Regions from separate parts of the Homo sapiens genome. Here region 2 is linked to region 1. The links are contacts of gene promoters, found by promoter capture Hi-C in human tissues and cell types (Jung and others, 2019). All regions are on one chromosome and are shown on one strand. The core of a region is centred on a gene start or on the middle of the fragment in contact, and the rest is flanking DNA. Distances in the headings are between cores, read along the strand shown. Region 1 holds the start of CDH23 (cadherin related 23). Region 2 holds the start of LINC03139 (long intergenic non-protein coding RNA 3139).

Evidence for each region. Contacts are between HindIII fragments. The study calls those that stand out against the background at their distance.
Region 2: a contact is called between a fragment that was not itself captured here and the fragment with the promoter of CDH23 in region 1, in 1 of the 25 tissues and cell types used here (spleen).

What each region holds. Positions count from the first base shown.
Region 1 is chr10:71,395,268-71,398,434 of GRCh38, forward strand. It overlaps CDH23 (cadherin related 23), which reads left to right and starts at 1,653. Exons shown (of 70, transcript NM_022124.6): 1 at 1,653-2,051. RefSeq lists a silencer at 1,172-1,261 and an enhancer at 1,945-2,456. The HindIII fragment of the contact is 12,378 bases long and covers 149-3,167 here.
Region 2 is chr10:71,875,564-71,878,730 of GRCh38, forward strand. It overlaps LINC03139 (long intergenic non-protein coding RNA 3139), which reads left to right and starts at 2,524. Exons shown (of 2, transcript XR_007062186.1): 1 at 2,524-2,922; 2 at 3,150-3,167. RefSeq lists an enhancer at 434-1,314. The HindIII fragment of the contact is 7,970 bases long and covers 1-3,167 here.

The DNA of each region.
Region 1 (3,167 bases), core at 403-2,902:
GCTCTCCCCACCCTTTCTGGACTTCCTGACATATGCCAGCTCCTTCCCACCTTTGCACAAGTTGATTGCGACTGCGGTCACCAAACCATTGTTCCTGGCCCAGCCGTTGCCTGCAGTGGGCACCTGGGGCCTTTGCACATGCTGTTTCTCCTGCCTAAAACTCCACTCTCTCTCCCTTGCTCATCCTTCAGCTCAGTCACCTCCTCTAGGAGGTCTTCCCTGATCCCCTCGGCCAGGCGCCATTAAAGCACTCTTCTTCCTAGCACTGATTCTGGCTGTAATTTTACCTGCTTATGTGTTTCATTGATGAATGTCTGGTTCCCCTACTAGAGAAGCTTCATGGGGCACAAAGACCAAGCCTGTTTTGTTCTCCATCCTATTCCTAGAAACTATTTCAGTTAGCTAGCACATAGCAGTGACTGTGAATGAATGAATGAATAATGAATGAGCGAATGGTAAGGAACTGGAGCTTTGGAACCAGATAGATTCTGGGTTCAATACCCGACTCCACCACAGGGGCAAGTCCCCAACCTCCTAAAGCCTGTTTCTCACTGTAAAACTGGGATAATGGCAGGGCCCACCAGAAAGACTTTATTGAAGATAGAATGAGTTGAGGCCCAGAAAGTCTCAGCCCAGAGCCTGGCTCCAGGCAGGTACTGTCAATGTACTGACTGGAACAGTGACAGCTCGGAAATCCTGTCATGTGAGAAATAGTTTTAAAAAATCAGAATGCTTAGCCCCGGGGAAGTAAAGATCAAAGGTAGGGGATAAACCTCTTCCATTACCTGCATATGGACCCTTTCTTGATCCAGCTGTCTCAGAAAGCCATAAAGTCTCTGTCCCTATAGGTGTGCAAAAAGGAGCCGGGAGACCATGACTCGGGCACTGCAGACGGAGCTCCCGCAGGGGTGAGGGCGCCTAAGTGACCTCACGGGTCTCCTCCAACCCGGGGTCCTCCATTTCTAAGCACTTGGAGGCCTCTTGAGCTCTAGTGAGGGAGGAGGCGCAGATGGGAGCGCACGAGTCGGGTGGGCAAAGGCAGCTGGTTGGAGAGAAGCGTAGGCCAAGAGGCCCCAAGGACTAGAGGGACTGCTCAGCGACTCTGGGAGCAGAGAGGGGGCGCTTAAAGCCAACAGATGGCGCGGGCTCACCTAGGCCGAGCGCCCGCTCGCCCGCCCGGGCTTCCCGGGAGCGTTACCTCGCTCTGCCTGAGGCGCGGGGCGGACGAGACGCTGGGGGCCCCATCCCCCTGCGCGCCCCTCTGCGGGACGGCTGGCGGCCTGGCGGGGCACTGCTCTGTCTCGCACCTGGGGCCTCTTCCGCGGGCTTCCTCCCTGCCCCTTTGGGGGATTCGTAGAGTTGCCACAGCAGCCGGTGCCATGACATCGGCAGAGGGCAGCTTCGCCAGCACTGAAATATTCATGCCCTGAGCGCCCGGCGGGGCTCGGCGCCGCTCCCGGGGGTCCGGGCGGGGCCGGGCGGGAGCTCGGGGGTCCTGGCGGCCTGAGGGGTGGGGGAGCGCCGAGCGCGGGCGGGCGGGCGGGGGCCGGGCGAGGCGGGAGGTGAGGGAGGGAGCTGCGGGAGGCGGGGTCTGGACGGCGGGGGCCGAGCGGGGCGGGGGCCGAGCGGGGCGGGGGAAGCAAGGGAAAGTTGATCGCGGACTTGAGCGGCGGCGGCGGCTCGGGAGAGAGGGACGCGGGCTGCAGGCGCGATGCTTGGCTAGAGGACGCGTCCGACGGCGGCCGGACGCTGAGGTGGTCGGGGCTAGTCAGCCCGGCCTGGGCATGGAGCGCGGGGTGGCAGAGCCTCTGGACGTTTGGGGCGCGCCCAGTCCGAGCCCCCGGCGCGCCTGAAGTTGCGAGCGGCGAGCGGCGAGCGGCGAGCGGCCCGCGGAGACCCAGGAGCTGCCGGCACGCCGCGGATGAGCCTTCGCGCCGGCGGGAAGACGCGGCGGTGGCCAGGGCCAGAGCAGGCGGCCCGCGGGGGCCGATCCGGCGGAGAGCAGAGCCCGAGGCGAGGCGAGGCGCGGCGCCGCTGCACACACGCACACGGTACCCGGAGCCACGCACCGCCTCTTCCCTCCTCGCTTCCCTCTCCTTCCCCTCGCCGTTCGCCCGCCGCGCGGCGGGGAAGTTGGTGGTGACCGCGGCTGCCGAACCACTTGTTCCCAGCGCGGCCATCGCCCGTGGCGGGCGCTCGCGGCATCCTTCGGTCCCAGGCCCCTGGCCCTAGCCTCGCGCCCCGCTCCGAGCTCCCCGACGCGCGGCAACTTTGATTCCTGGGAACTCGAATTCCATTCGCGTTGGCCTTGGGAGGACAGGCATCCCATCCCCCATCCCCGGTCCTGGGACCGCGAACATTTGGGGGCTTTGCTCTCGGCGCTACGGAGAGGGTCCAGGTCTGGGGTGGAGAGATTTTCGAGAGTGGAGCGCGTTGGGATCCAATCCCCTCCCCTTCTGAGCCCTGGGTCCCCATTTGGACAGTGGGGATGGGGTGGGGCGCACCCCTACTGCGGGCTGGGCAGAGGCGCTGAGGGGAACTAAAGGCACGTAGTTCTCCCCTCCCCTCATCAAGTCCCTGTGCCCGCGGGAGACCCCAGGGGACTTACACATCCTCCCAAATTCGGTCCAGCTATGGGAAGACGCGCCCCTCGAGGAGCCGGGAGCCTTTTGCGGCTCTCGCTTCGCCTTCCTGGCCCTGGAACTGGTCCGCTACGAGCGGTGCTGGCTGCCCCCAGGAGCTGGCACCCGGGAGCACTGCCCCTCATCTCCACCGTAGGTCAGCCCAGGACTCGAGCAGAGCCCGCGTGTTCCAAGGCAGTGACGGCGCCAGCCGGCGGGGACTCTGCCTGGCTTTCTCGGAGCGGGCACCTAGAGAGGCTGCCTCCGTGCTGTGAGCGGAGATCCGATGCCAGCCGCCGCCCCACTGCGACCCCAGCCCCAGCCCTAGTGCTGTCAGCGGTCCACTGGGAGGAAATTAGCCTTTCCTCGGTAGTAATACTCCCCCATCCTCCCTAGTAATTCAGAAAGCAGAGCCTTCTTTTTCTACGTCCTTTGCCCTCTCAGACCAGAGCTGGCATTGACATTGACCTCGCCTTCCAGCCCCTTGGGAAGTGCCCCAACCCTAATTTGGATTTTGAAATAAGCTAGAGAGACACAGGAGTGTGT
Region 2 (3,167 bases), core at 497-2,996, 480 kb after region 1:
CAACCATCCGATTTCTCAATCTTTTCCCCACCTTTCCCCCCTTTCTATTCCACAAAACCGCCATTGTCATCATGGCCCGTTCTCAATGAGCTGTTGGGTACACCTCCCAGACCGGGTGGTGGCCGGGCAGAGGGGCTCCTCACTTCCCAGTAGGGGCGGCCGGGCAGAGGCGCCCCTCACCTCCCGGACGGGGCGGCTGGCCAGGCGGGGGGCTGACCCCCCCACCTCCCTCCCAGACGGGGCGGCTGGCCGGGCGGGGGGCTGACCCCCCCACCTCCCTCCCAGACGGGGCGGCTGGCCGGGCGGGGGGCTGACCCCCCCACCTCCCTCCCGGACGAGGTGGCTGCCGGGCGGAGACGCTCCTCACTTCCCAGACGGGGTGGCTGCTGGGCGGAGGGGCTCCTCACTTCTCAGACGGGGCGGTTGCCAGGCAGAGGGTCTCCTCACTTCTCAGACGGGGCGGCCGGGCAGAGACGCTCCTCACATCCCAGACGGGGCGTCAGGGCAGAGGTGCTCCCCACATCTCAGACAATGGGCGGCCGGGCAGAGACGCTCCTCACTTCCCAGATGTGATGGCGGCCGGGAAGAGGCGCTCCTCACTTCCTAGATGGGATGGCGGCCAGGCAGAGACGCTCCTCACTTTCCAGACTGGGCAGCCAGGCAGAGGGGCTCCTCACATCCCCGACGATGGGCGGCCAGGCAGAGACGCTCCTCACTTCCCAGACGGGGTGGCGGCCGGGCAGAGGCTGCAATCTCGGCACTTTGGGAGGCCAAGGCAGGCGGCTGGGAGGTGGAGGTTGTAGCAAGCCGAGATCACGCCACTGCACTCCAGCCTGGGCACCGTTGAGCACTGAGTGAACGAGACTCCATCTGCAATCCCGGCACCTCGGGAGGCCGAGGCTGGCGGATCACTCGCGGTTAGGAGCTGGAGACCAGCCCGGCCAACACAGCGAAACCCTGTCTTCACCAAAAAAATACGAAAACCAGTCAGGCGTGGCGGCGCGCGCCTGCAATCGCAGGCACTCGGCAGGCTGAGGCAGGAGAATCAGGCAGGGAGGTTGCAGTGAGCCGAGATGGCAGCAGTACCATCCAGCTTCGGCTCGGCATCAGAGGGAGACTGTGGAAAGAAAGGGAGAGGGAGACCGTGGGGAGAGGGAGAGGGAGAGGGAGCGGGAGCGGGAGCGGAAAAAATATTTAAAGATGATATACAGTCTACAGCAAACCACCAAATGCATCATTTGCAAGTTTAGGCTAATGATAAAAATTTCAAAGGGGCCAGGCACATTTGCTCATGCCTGTAATCCCAGCACTTTGGGAGGCCAAGGAGGGCGGATCACCTGAGGTCAGGAGTTCGAGACCAGCCTGGCCAACATGGTGAAACCCCCGTCTCTACTGCAACTATAACGATTAGCCGGGTATGGTGGCAGGTGCCTGTAATCCCACTTACTCAGGAGGCTAAGGCAGGAGAATCGCTTGAACCTGGGAAGTGGAGGTTGCAGTGAGCCGAGGTCGTGCCATTGCACTCCAGCCTGGGTGACAGAGTGAGAGTCCATCTCAAAAAAAAAAAAAAAAAATTTGAAAGGGGTTTTTTAAAGGGTGCCTGTGGACAAAGTGTGATCACTGTTGTGTGGAAGTGATCCTTTACGATCCCAATCAGATCACACCATTTGCTGTTCACACATCTCCAGTGGCCTCTTTTGCCTTTGAGCATGCCCAGGTCGTTTCCCCCCAGTCTGGAGGCTCTTGCCCTTTGCTCCTGCTCCAGATATTCATTCTGCATCTGCTCCCTAGCAGCTTTCTCTCTGCCATCCTGCCATCTTTTCTTCTTGCCATGCTAGCATATGTTTATTTATGAGTGGCAGCTGTATCTCTAGTCACTAGGTCAGGACCTGGTATATTCTAGGCGCCCTGGAAGCATTCTCCAGAAACAGAGGTGCGGTGAGGAGAGTTTGGATCCAGTTTGGACTGCAGATAAATGTTTGTGAGGCTGGGCATGGTGGCTCACACCTGCAATCCCAGCGCTTTCAGAGGCCAAGGCGGGAGGACCGCCAGAGCCCAGGAGTGAGAGACCAGCCTGTGCAACATAGTGAGACCCCTGTCTAATTATTTTAAAAAAGGTTGTTTGTGAAATGACTGAGCAAGTAAATAATGAAGGAGTGAAGGAACTTGGACTGATGACCTGGAACACCTGTACCCTTCTCCCACTCCAAAAAACCCCTGCCCATCCTCACAATCCAGGGCCAGCATCACTCTTTTTTTCTGGAAGCTTCCTCAGTATCCTGGGTATGGGTCCCCTGTGATTCATGGAGGACCCCCAGTGGGGCTCCCAATGGCACGGCATTACCAGCACCTGCACCTGCTGCCTCCCCAGTCACCCCTGGCTCCCAGGGTTCCATTGCACAGTAGATCCTCTAGAAATGCTTCACAGACATTGATGTGGTGAGGGAGGAGGGACAGGGTAGCAGTCTCACCACCCATTACCCCCACCCCCGCCTCTCATTCAACGAACACTTTGAGCACCTGGCACTTTGATCCCCTCAGTGCCAGGCACTGAGCTCCAAATCCCAGACTCTGTAACGTGCAAGCAATCCTTACTCTTTCTATTTTAATATCTTAACCCATGTATTTATATACCTTGTCAAGTAAAATGTATTCTTTTTTAATGATTCTCAAAAGGATACTCATTGAAAAAATTTAGAAAACACCGAAAAATGCAAGGAAGAAAAATACAATTCTCTTACAATCCTGTATAATCCTGTGCCTCTAGGCCTACAGTCAGCTCCAAGCAACGGCACAGACACCTCCTCCTCCGGATGACCAGGATTGCCTCTGGGTTTGTCACAAGCTGGAACAGGGTCCTTTGGAGGATGGGGCTCTGTGAAGAAAAAGAGGTGAAGTGTTTGGATTCAGTCTGAGCCAAAGGTGAGCGTTATCAGTCCCCGAAAGGCCTCAGGGGTTGGCTGACTCTCTGAGAGGCCGGCAAGACTGGTGAAGTTCTGGAAGGGGACCTGGGGGGTGGGGCCCGGGGACCTGGGGGGTGGGGCCCGGGGACATGGGGGGTGGGGCCCGAGGCCCAGGCAGAGGCCAAACATTGCCCAGGGCCCGGCTTTAGTCTGCAACAACCCTCATTGTTCTCTCACTGTCTCTAGGCCGCTTTATCTGGGTTT